Regions from separate parts of the Homo sapiens genome. Here regions 1, 2 and 4 are each linked to region 3. The links are contacts of gene promoters, found by promoter capture Hi-C in blood cells and fetal thymus (Javierre and others, 2016). All regions are on one chromosome and are shown on one strand. The core of a region is centred on a gene start or on the middle of the fragment in contact, and the rest is flanking DNA. Distances in the headings are between cores, read along the strand shown.

Region 1 (2,874 bases), core at 363-2,862, 560 kb before region 3:
TCTCGAACTCCTGACCTCAAGTGATCCACCCACCTTGGCCTCCCAAAGTGCTGGAATTACAGGCATGAGCCACTTCACCTGGCCCAATTTTTTTTTAATCATCTGATTTTTAGATTCATCTTTAATTTTCATTCACAGTCACCTCTATCCACAGGGCCCTGACAGGCTTCCCTGGGGCTGGACTGAGGATGGATCTGCACACTTGCTGCCATGCTATGCTGCAGCGGGATTTCTTTTTTTTTTCTTTTTTCTTTTTTTTTTGAGACAGAGTCTCCCTCTGTTGCCCAGGCTTGAGTGCAGTGGTGCCATCTCAGCTCACTGCAAGCTCCGCCTCCAAGATTCAGGCCATTCTCCTGCCTCAGCCGCCCGAGTAGCTGGGATTACAGGCGCCCCCCACCACGCCCGGCTAATTTTTTGTATTTTTAGTAGAGACGGGGTTTCACCATGTTAGCCAGGATGGTCTCGATCCCCTGACCTCGTGATCCACCCGCCTTGGCCTCCCAAAGTGCTGGGATTACAGGCATGAGCCACCCCGCCCGGCCTGCAGCGGGATTTCTAGTCCTCTGAGGATGAGGGCTTTGCCACAGAGCCATTTGGGAGCTTCCTCAGCCCCTCCCGCAGGCAGCCACGCTCCTGTGAGGTGTTCCTCCTGGCTGTGGCAATTTCCGACTCCAGTGTGCACACAGCCATCACACTCCCCATAGATGGCCTGCCATGGCCCCTCCTGGGACAGCAGCCCAGGCGAGTCCTTCTGCAGAAAGCTTGGGCCAAGCAAAGGACCACCTGCCTAGGGTGAGGGCAGTCAAGGATAAGGGGGCGGGAGCTGAGGACACAGCCGTCAATTTACCACACTAGGTGGGGCTGGGCCCCTTGCACAGGTTAGGGGCGAGTCCTGTCTCCAACTCTGGGCTGTACTTAGTCACTAAATGTGCAGAGCCAGGCCCCCCAGGCCCCACGGCCCTCATCAAATCCATTCATCTGGCTCCTCCCCACACCCTTCCACAGGTCAAGAACACACCCAAGATCTTCCTTCCCTCTGCCTCATCACCATTTTTCTCCTGACAAACCTTTAAAAAAAGAAAAGAAAAAAAAAGGCCAGGCGCGGTGGCTCATGCCTGTAATCCCAGCACTTTGGGAGGCTGAGGTGGGCGGGTCACCTGAACTCAGGAGTTTGAGACTAGCCTGGCCAAAATGGTGAAACCCCGTCTCTACTAAAAATACAGAAAATTAGCTGGGTGTGGTGGCGGGCGCCTGTAATCCCAGTTACTGGGAAGCTGAGGCACAAGAATTGCTCGAACCCCAGAGGCAGAGGTTGCAGTGAGCTGTGATTGCACCACTGCACTCCAGCCTGGGTGACAGAGAGGAAAAAAAAAAAAGAAGAGAAAAATACAACAAACAAACATCAACAGCGGAAGTTAACTGGAGACCCCCGTTTGTGAACCAGTGAAAGGGACAATGGATGAGGAGGCTGGTGTGGTATCCTGAGGGCATCCTGTGGATAAGGCACCAGGCCAGGGGCTGGGGCCCTGAGGTTTCACTCCTCCCAGGTCTAGAGGGGTCCATCCTACCCCTGCTGCCAGAAGAGGGGCCTTTCCTCTGCCCCACAGCACCTGGGTCTAGGAACTGTCTGATTCACCGCCAGGAAACCCTCTCCTTGAGATGTTTCTTCATAGGTCATCCCAGAGCCTGCTAAATGCTTTTGCCCTAGGCTGGCTGTGTGGCTGGTGGTCTGTGGAATGAGGAAAGTGTCTCCTCTCCACTGGCTACTGGGAGAGCATATAAAATAAACATGATTTAAAAAGCCAGTGCCCACAGAAGACACAGACGAAATATTAAAAAATAAAAAAATAAGAAAAATAAAATAAAAATAAACAACCCCCCAGAAACCCCAGGTTCCCAAGCTGGGTGGGATGTGGAGTAAGCCAGTTTGCGGTGACATTTATATAAGGGGCTTGGTTCCTCCCTCAGGCAAGTCAAGCAAGTTGTAAAATTTGAGGGCACATTTTAAAATTGTTTAAAATCCTCCAAATGTGTTTCCTGTCTGGCACGGTGGATGGCGCGTTGGTAATACATGTGCATGTGTGGCCTGGAGGACGTGTTAACGACCAGGTTTAGAGGCAGAGATGCAGAAGAGCCTGCAAGAACCAGGAGCGAGAAAAGGGGTCTGTTGTTGTCATGGTGTGTGTTCCCCGTGTTGGAATGTGTGTAAGGGGCCTCTGGTCCTGTGAGGGTGGTTTAGTCTGGGAAATTAGCATCTTTTTTAAAGCTACTCTATTATAAATCATTAGTTAAAGGCCTTCAGGGCTAATAATACAGGTATGTGGTTTTTACTTCTGAAGCAAGCAGGTGTGATAATATTTGACAACACATCATAATTAGAATAGAGCGACATGCAGTTTGGTAAATTAGATGGTGACGATTAGACCCCCGCACATCGTGGCCTCTACCTTTGCCTAAGCTTTTCCCTCTGCCTGGGACGCCTTTACCAGCTGTCAAATCCTACTCATCCTTCCCAGCCTGGCTCCGTACCATCTCCCCACAGAGCGAATTAATCACTCTCTCTTCTGGGCCCCTGTGACATTTTGTCTTTTACAATGTTTACTTTGTTCTTTCTCTTCTGAAATTTAGCCGAATATGTGTCCCTTCCCCATCACAAGTCCTTTGAGGACCAGAACTGTGTCTTGGCTGTTGTCTTCCCTGCAGTTCTGTGCCCAGTGTGGGATCTTGGTTAATGTTTATTGAATTAAACTTCTTCTTCTTTTTTTAAGGGAATTACTTTGCAGAAAATTTAAAAACCCATATTGACATGGACCCAACTTGGTAAAAGCCATTACACTTAAGGTTTTTTTTTTTTGAGACAGAGTCTTGCTCTGT
Region 2 (2,700 bases), core at 137-2,636, 540 kb before region 3:
GCCTCTGGGAATGCCAGCGTGTCAGGTGGGAGCCCTCTTTGTGCCTGTGCTGGAGGGGGCCAACATGAGACAACACAAGGGTGAAGAAGACCCTGCCCAGGGTGAGGCTGCTCTGCCCTCAGGCCATACCACTGTGCCTGGTGACATCTTACCACTGCCTTGGCCAGGACGCCCTGGGCTCTGCAGACCTTGGTGTCACAAAGTAGGGCCCTGTACCAGACAGGCTCAGGGTCATTGGTGTCTGGCCATCTAAGTGCAGACCTCTCTCCCCAGTCTTCCTTACATGCTCTGGGATTGAAAGCCTCGCTGGACGGGAAAATCCTCAGCAGGGCTCCGCAGCTTTTAAAACTGATTTCATTTATTTATTATTTATTTAGATATTTATTTTTGAGAGACAGAGTCTCGTTCTGTCGCCCAGGATGGAGTGCAGTGGCTCGATCTCGACCCACTGGAACCTCCGCCTACCAGGTTCAAGCGATTCTCCTGCCTCAGCCTCCTGAGTAGTTGGGATTACAGACATGCACCACATGCCTGGCTAATTTTTGTATTTTTAGTAGATACTGGGTTTCGCCATGTTGTCCAGGATGGTCTCAAACTCCTGACCTCAAATGATCTGCCTGCCTTGGCCTCTCAAGTGCTGGGATTACAAGTGTGAGCCACAGTGCCTGCCAATTTACTTATTTATTTATTTTAAAGACAGGGTCAGCCGGGCGCGGTGGCTCATGCCTGTAATCCCAGCACTTTGGGAGGCTGAGGTGGGCGGATCACCTGAGGTTGGGAGTTCGAGACCAGCTTGACCAACATGGAGAAACCCTGTCTCTACTAAAAATACAAAATTAGCCAGGTGTGGTGGCACATGCCTGTAATCCCAGCTACTCGGGAGGCTGAGGCAGGAGAATCACTTGAACTCAGGAGGTGGAGGTTGCGGTGAGATGAGATCACACCATTGCACTCCAGTCTGGGCAACAAGAGCAAAACTCCACCTCAAAAAAAAGAGTCAGGGTCTTGCTCTTGCTCTGTCGCCCAGGCTGGAGTACAGTGGTGTGATCATAGCACATTGCAGCCTTGCTCTCCTGGGCTCAAGCAATTCTCCCGTCTCAGCCTCCTGAGTAGCTAAAACTACAGGTGCATGCCACCACGCCTAGCTTTTTTTTTTTTTTTTTTTTTTTGTAGAAATAGGGTCTCACTATTTTGCCCTGGCTGGTCTTGAACTCCTGGGCTCAAGCGATCCTCTCACCTCAGTCTTCCCAGTAGCTGGGACTAAAGGTTTGTCACCACACCTGGATATTTTTTTTATTTTTTGTAGAGATGGAGTCTTCCTATGTTGCCCAGGCCGGTCTCAAACTCCTGGGCTCAAGTGATCCTCCTACCTCAGCCTCCCAAAATGCTGGGATTAGAGGCCTGAGCTACTGTGCCTGGCCATTTGTTTTGTTTTTGTTTTTGTTTTTTTAAAGATGGGGTCGGCTGGGCACACTGGCTCACGCCTGTAATCCCAGCACTTTGGGAGGCTGAGGCGGGCAGATCACCTGAGGTCGGGAGTTCAAGAACAGCCTGGCCAACATGGCAAAACCCCATCTCTACTGAAAATACAAAAATTAGACAGGCGTGGTGGCATGCACCTGTAATCCCAGCTACTCAGGAGGCTGAGGCAGGAGAATCACTTGAACCCAGGAGGCGGGGGTTGCAGTGAGCTGAGATGGTGCCACTGCACCCCAGCCTGGGCGACTGAGTGAGATTCTGTCTCAAAAAAAATAAAAATAAAAATAAAAGATGGGGTCTTGCTATATTACCTGGGCTGGCATTAAACTCCAGAGGTCAAGCGGTCCTCCCACCTCAGCCTCCTGTTAGACCCACTTTGAATGCCAGCCCTATCATTAGCCAGGCTGTGTGGCCCTAAGTCTTAGATCCTCATCTGTGTTATTGGAATAGTGAGGCTTACAAAGGCGCAGCACTCGGCACATAGGAGGTGCTCAGTGAATGGAAGCTGGCTTATTCTAGTTACTGCCCAAAGTGCTTGGCCCTTTCAGTCTTACTATTCCAGAATTTTTGAATCTGCAAGGCCCTCCCCCATCCCATCTGGCCAGCCCCTATCCTGCCTGGCCCGGGGAATTGAAGCAAGCCTGCAGCCCAGGCCCACTACTATGGGTCCTCGAGATTCTCCCCAACAGTACCCGACCCCGCTCTGTGTATCTCCTCCTGTCTGAAGCCTCTTTCCTCTGTCCCTAGGCAAGTGTGTGCTTTTTCTTGGCATTCCCACAGCTCCCAGGCATTTACCCACGAAAGAGCTGGTTATGTTGTCAGTTATGTATGTGTGTGTTACCAATTTCTGCTCATACATCAACACATACTAAAGTATGAGCTTATTTTGGGGTAGAGACTATATCTTGTGTCTCCAATACCCAGGATAGAGCCTGGCACTCGGCAGGTGCTCGATAAATGTGGATTGAATGCATGGACGATTGGATGGATAGGCCCACCTTTTCTGTCTTATCAGTCTGTAGGGAGTCTCAGACTGGTCTAGTGGCTGCCCCCAGTTCTTTCCCCACCTGCTCTCCCACCCCACACTCTTCCCTGTTCCGCTATTGGGAAACCCACCCACTCTGCAGAGTCTAGCTCAGATTCCATTTTCCATGTTTTATGGGTAGAGAGGAGCAGAAAACACAGTCCTTACCACCAAGGGCTCATTCTCACAAAGCAGCC
Region 3 (2,700 bases), core at 47-2,546:
GGCAGCATTACAGGCAGGCGCACAACTTCCAGACCTGGGGGCTCAGGGGAGTAGGTTGGAGGCTGCATTCTAGCAAGCCACTGGGGCTCTGATCTCCATCTTTCCCTTCCTTGCTGCAGTGCACACAGGAAGACGTGTCTTCAGAAGATGAAGATGAGGAGATGCCTGAGGTAGGCTTGCCCCCTGAGGTGGCATTGGCTGGAAGCTCTTGCAGTCAGCAACATTGGTACCCATATCCAGAACTCCAGTCTAAAACTGGAGAGAGAAAAATATCAAAGGAATAAAGACAGATTTACTGACCTGGAGGAATAGCCAGTGTAGTAGAGGAGACAGGGCACCCATATCCAACCACTGAAGACAGGTGCAGCGCGGTTCAAACCAAATACTGGGTAAGTTAATTTCAAATGGCTTTGGAGTCCAACAAACCTGTGTTTGCATCCTAGCTATCCTAATTGAGGAATTTTATGTAATCTCACTAAGCTACAGTTTTCTTATCTATAAAGTAGGATTATAATACCTACTGCATATGGTTGTCTTGAGATTAAATGAGGTGTTATATATAAAATGCTTCAGATGATACATGATAAATGCTAAACAATCTATCTGATATATTCTCTAAAAACATACAGAATATAAAATCATGGTTAGGAATTTGAGCTTTAGAGCTAGACAGAACTTGACTGAATCTTAGCTCTGCTAAGAGCTGTGACTTTGGGCATGATAATTGACCTCACTAGACTCAGCTTCCGCATCTATAAAATGGATAATGATAGAATAATGAGTGATGGTGGTAAGAATGAAATGAGCTAGTATCTGCGGCACCTAGGACAGAACCTGGCATGTAATAAACACTCAGTAGACATTACCTGCTGGTGTGGTAATTAGGTATGTCCTGCCAGAAATGGGGAGATCACTCTGATTACTTTTATTTCCTAGCATTAGATTAATATCCCAGGTTCTATAACCGTGTAAGGTTCTTGAGACTGGCAAAGGGCTGACGACATGAAATTTACTCCTCCCAGATAGTGGACAGCCCTCTGGGCCACACCCCCAACATCTGGCTGAGGGGCTCAACCCTACATAGGTTCTCCTCCTTCCCTATGCTCAGTGAGCTAGTTGCTTGCTCACTTAGAGCAGGATGAATAAGGGGCTAATTCTGTTCTTGACCTCTTCCATATATCTCTCTGGACATCCTTTCTCATTTCCATCTGGCAGTGCGTGCCTCTGCATACCTGATTCATGCCTTGCATTTGTAGCGAGGAGAGGAGATGTAATGATTCAGGTTTCTCCTTTAGGCTTGGGGCCCTGAGAACTCCCGGGTGCAATAGTCACCTGGTGAAACATGAGCTTTGAGTCACAGGGTCAGGCCCAAGTCATTTCTGCTAGGAATTAGGGAAGAGTTTCTGCTGCCAAGGGAGTTTTAGGAACAGTTGGAGCAGGGTCAGTCCAGGAAACAAGAGGGCTAAGTCCCTGCCTCGATCTCAGCTGCAGCTCTGCTCGTTTCCGAAGTCCTTGCTGTAGCTTGAGAGCTGAAGATTTAGACTGTGGAGGGAATGGGGCTGGAAATTGTTCTAAAAATGGAAAGCACGTTGCGTTTATAAGACTGCTAGATGGACTGCTTCACTTTAACTTTTGGCTCTTCGCCAAATGGGACTGGGAAGGTGATGGTCATTCTCTAACCTGTGTCGGTTTTTTTCCTTTTCTTTTCACTCCCACCCCACACCTCCTCCAGGACACAGAAGACTTAGATCACTATGAAATGAAAGAGGAAGAGCCAGCTGAGGGCAAGAAATCTGAAGATGATGGCATTGGAAAAGAAAACTTGGCCATCCTAGAGAAAATTAAAAAGAACCAGAGGCAAGATTACTTAAATGTACGTGCCTTCTAGAGAGAGGCTGGTGAAGGGGTTGGTGGGAAATGGCTGGGAAGTAGTAGGCCATCGCATCTCAGTATGGAGAGCAGACTCCTTTTTTGTGCCTAATCCTTTCTTAAATCCTGGGCAAGCTGCCAGACTGCCCCTAAGGTCTAACGTGTGTTTATAAACCACACGACCAAGGAATGTTCCTGTCATCCGTCCCTCACAGGGTGCAGTGTCTGGCTCGGTGCAGGCCACTGACCGGCTGATGAAGGAGCTCAGGGATATATACCGATCACAGAGTTTCAAAGGCGGTGAGTTTGCCCCAGAGAGGGGCCTGCACAAGAGTCACCCATAAAGAAGGGTATGGTGGCAAGGGGCCCAAGAGGTTCTGGGGTCCAGGAGTGCTTATGAACTTTTCAGGCCAAGAATGGAGCTCCTCAAGCCAGTGGCTTGGTTGCATGTCCATCTGTGGTGAACCTAGAGCTGTTGATCTTTTTCTCTCAGTCTGGGAAAGGGGTCTGCATTAGAGACCACTCACCACCTGGACCATTCTACTAACACCTGTTTTTTCCCTCCTTCCAGGAAACTATGCAGTCGAACTCGTGAATGACAGTCTGTATGATTGGAATGTCAAACTCCTCAAGTGAGTGGGGACTCTGGGATTGGAGAGGAAGTTGAGGAGGAGTGTGAGTGGGGCTACTGTGGTGGGATCTCCAGGGCAGCCCCATCCAGCATTTTCATTCAGGGTCCCGGAGCGGGTGTGGGCAGTGGTTTCGTGGTCTGCTGCCAGCCAGGGCAGGGGAGCCCTTATGAAGCTCCTGAGGTGGAACCAGGCATCTGAG
Region 4 (2,871 bases), core at 227-2,726, 720 kb before region 3:
CCTGGCGGGTGATGTAGTATAGAGAATGGAGAAGCACAATCAGAGGGATACCAGGCTTCTGGGGATCCGTCTGCGAGTGAACTGAGGGAAGAGAGTGAGATCCACAGGAGACTAGAAAAGGCGCACTGGCTGGGTGGGAACGAGGCAGCAAAGACAGGAGTGAAAGGAACAATGGGAGGAAGAGAGACATAGAGGGAGTGTGTATATATGTGGATTCAAGATAATGTCTGGGTCTACAACTGTATTTCGAGGCTCCAGATTCACACCTCTTCCTCTCTGCTTCTTTAGTTCCCCAGGTTAGGTGCTTTGCACACATCCCTGCCTCATCCAAGAGCTGTCCTTCATTTCCCCCAAGGACAGGGCTGCTGTCTTCCCCTAGCGACCTTGATGTAGAGGTACACCCTGACGGAGACTGTGAAATGGCCCCACCCCCACCCTCTGTTCCTTCTCTGGGAGTCACCTGGGTGGTGGTCCTGCCCCTGCTTTGCCGCCTCAGTCACTCTGAGTCTCGGCCCCGCCCCGCCGCCCCCGCCTTCAGCACTAGGGACAGCGACCAGAGCTGAGGTCTGGACCCCCCGCCCCCTTCAGCGTCCCTATTTTTCCTGGTAGTCTGTCATGCTGAACTAGGCAGGTGCTAAGGAGCGGGTGTGGGGATGGGAGATGGCGGAGCTCGGCTTCTCCCTCAGACTGGCCCCGATACTTAGAATATAATTTCCTAGATCTCCAGCAAGCAGGACTGGAGGAGGCAGGGGTCCCAAACTCTGGTAGTTCCTTTGGTCCGGATGGGGTCCCGGGTTCCTGAAAGAGGAAATCCAGGTCTCTGGAGATCCCCTGATGTCTGCTTGCCCCTTCTGGTGCCCCCAGCCTGTCCAGGCACGGAGGACCTCCGGCAGGGGATACCCGCCCAGGAATTCCCAGGCTAGACTGGTGCAAGTGACTCTCCCGCCCCACCAAGGGACCCCGGGCTGGAAATGAAGTGACCGTGGAGGGTGGGGCGGGCCGGGTCCCGGTGTCGCTGCCCGCGAGGGTGGGATTGATGTACCCTGCCCTCCCCGCCAAGCCCCCAATACCGGAAGTCGCTGTAGGGGTGGATGATCCAGGCCCCCGCTGACTTCACCCGCTCCTGCTCGATTTCCACTGCTTTGTGGCTGCCGAACACCCGAAGGGAGAACTTGTTGACCGTAGGCTGGAGCAGCGTCCCAAGGTGCCTCCTCTTAGGCTCAGGCCCAGATTTGGGGATCGGACCTGAGGCCGCGGTCGCAGGCGGGGGAGCAACGGGAGGCACCGCCTCCAGTCCAGGGGTCGCCCCTTCGCTGGCCCCCGCCGCCGGCCGCTGCTCTGCCTCCATGGCGCCCACCCCGCTTACACGCTCGGCCTCCTAGAGCCCTCTGTGGCCATCAGGTACCCGCAACCCCTCCAGAGCAGGAGTCGGCGCAGCCCCGCGGGCTCTAGCGGAGGCGTCGTAGGCTCGGAATCGCCGGCGCGCGGGGCGGAGGGGGTGTGTGCTAGACTGGCGGGCGGCGGGCGGGCTGCGCGGCGCCCCCTGGCGAGGGCCGCGCCAAGACCGGGCGGGGCTGGGACGCCGGGATCCTGGAGGAACTCCGAGAGGGGCGTGGCTTAGCAAAGAAGGCGGGGAGCGCAGCCTGAGCCAGGGAGAGGGCGTGGCCTAGCGTTGGCCTTTCATCCACTGAGAACCAGGGAGGAGGAGCCCCCTGCAGTGGCGGGAAAATCGGACGCGGGTTTGTAGCTTGAAGGACTTGGGAGGGAGAGGGATTGGGGACCAATGGAAGAAGTGGAAATGGCTTTTGGGATTCTTCTCCACTCTCGCCCAGGGACTTCTGTCCTGCTCCCGTCTTCTCTCAACACTGTCCTAGGCATATTCTTGTCTTTTGGTCTCCTCCGAACTGCTTCCCCTAGTATTTAATTTCCTAATTCATTCTGTCAGCCTTCACCAAGTGCAACTCTGCCTGTCATTGAGTGGATGCTGAGGAAACAAAAATGAATACAAAAGTCCTAGTCTTAGCATCTCCATGTAGTAATGGAAAACAACACAAAACAAAACAAAAACAAAGGCCTAGCCATAAAGCCACTGCTCATCTGTGCCCAACGACAGACAGGTAAATTGCAGTGCTATGCGAAGTGCTACAAATTCCTAAATATCTCAAATTCTCCCCTTCATCTCCAATTCTTATTACCACTGCCTCATTTCAAGCCCTCAGCATTTTTTCACTTAAATTACTTCGGAAACCTCTAAAAGAGTCTTCAACCTCTTCCAGGCCAATTCTTCTTCCATTCCCTGCCAGTTACCTTCCTAAAATCCAACTATGGCTGTGTCACTTGCTTGAAGCCCATCAAGCTTTCCCATCTTCTACAGGGGTACATTTAAGCTGCTTAGCATGGTGTACCAGGCCCAAAAAATTTGGACCTAGTTTCAACAGTCTCTCTTCTGACAGTCCCTCTCTTGAAAGCCACAGCCCCAATCATGCTGAAAGACTTTGTGCTGCCTTGTCTCTATGCTTTTGCAAATATTTTCTCTGCCTGGTATTCTCCTCCAATTCACTTTCGAACAGTTGGTTCAGATCTTGCTTTCTCTAGGAAACCTAGGAACACATTTCCAACTCTCCTTTCCTCAGGTAGGGTCTATTCTAGAGCTTTTTTACAGCAGCCAGGGCACCACTGTTTTGAGCAACTCATGTCACAGGGCTACCATTATTATTATTATTTTAGAGATGAGGTCACACTATGTTGCCCAGGCTGGTTTTGAACTCAGAGCTCAAGTGATCTTCCTGCCTTGGCTTCCCAAAGTGCTAGGATTACAGGCATGAGCATGGTCTCATTATTTATTTACAGATTTTCTCTCCTGTTAGATTG

The links. The method cuts DNA at HindIII sites, captures the fragments that hold promoters and counts their contacts. A CHiCAGO score of 5 or more calls a contact.
Region 1: a fragment that was not itself captured here is called in contact with the fragment with the promoter of UBE2Q1-AS1 in region 3 in 1 of 17 cell types (endothelial precursors); the score reaches 5.7 in endothelial precursors.
Region 2: a fragment that was not itself captured here is called in contact with the fragment with the promoter of UBE2Q1-AS1 in region 3 in 1 of 17 cell types (neutrophils); the score reaches 6.0 in neutrophils.
Region 4: the fragment with the promoter of HCN3 here is called in contact with the fragment with the promoter of UBE2Q1-AS1 in region 3 in 4 of 17 cell types (naive CD8 T cells, neutrophils, total CD4 T cells and 1 more); the score reaches 7.3 in naive CD8 T cells.

The regions. Positions count from the first base shown.
Region 1 is chr1:155,110,201-155,113,074 of GRCh38, reverse strand. No RefSeq gene overlaps it. Among named protein-coding and RNA genes, the nearest start is that of EFNA1, 16 kb to the left of the region's middle. The HindIII fragment of the contact is 1,697 bases long and covers 764-2,460 here.
Region 2 is chr1:155,088,637-155,091,336 of GRCh38, reverse strand. No RefSeq gene overlaps it. Among named protein-coding and RNA genes, the nearest start is that of EFNA3, 11 kb to the right of the region's middle. The HindIII fragment of the contact is 7,010 bases long and covers 1-2,700 here.
Region 3 is chr1:154,552,205-154,554,904 of GRCh38, reverse strand. It overlaps UBE2Q1-AS1 (UBE2Q1 antisense RNA 1), which reads right to left and starts at 1,296. Exons shown (of 2, transcript NR_046668.1): 1 at 1,233-1,296; 2 at 1-255. UBE2Q1 (ubiquitin conjugating enzyme E2 Q1) reads left to right here. Exons shown (of 13, transcript NM_017582.7): 4 at 120-170; 5 at 1,733-1,873; 6 at 2,085-2,169; 7 at 2,441-2,501. The HindIII fragment of the contact is 6,880 bases long and covers 1-2,700 here.
Region 4 is chr1:155,276,068-155,278,938 of GRCh38, reverse strand. HCN3 (hyperpolarization activated cyclic nucleotide gated potassium channel 3) reads right to left here and starts at 1,476. Exons shown (of 8, transcript NM_020897.3): 1 at 1,071-1,476. The coding sequence starts at 1,348. The HindIII fragment of the contact is 9,883 bases long and covers 1-2,358 here.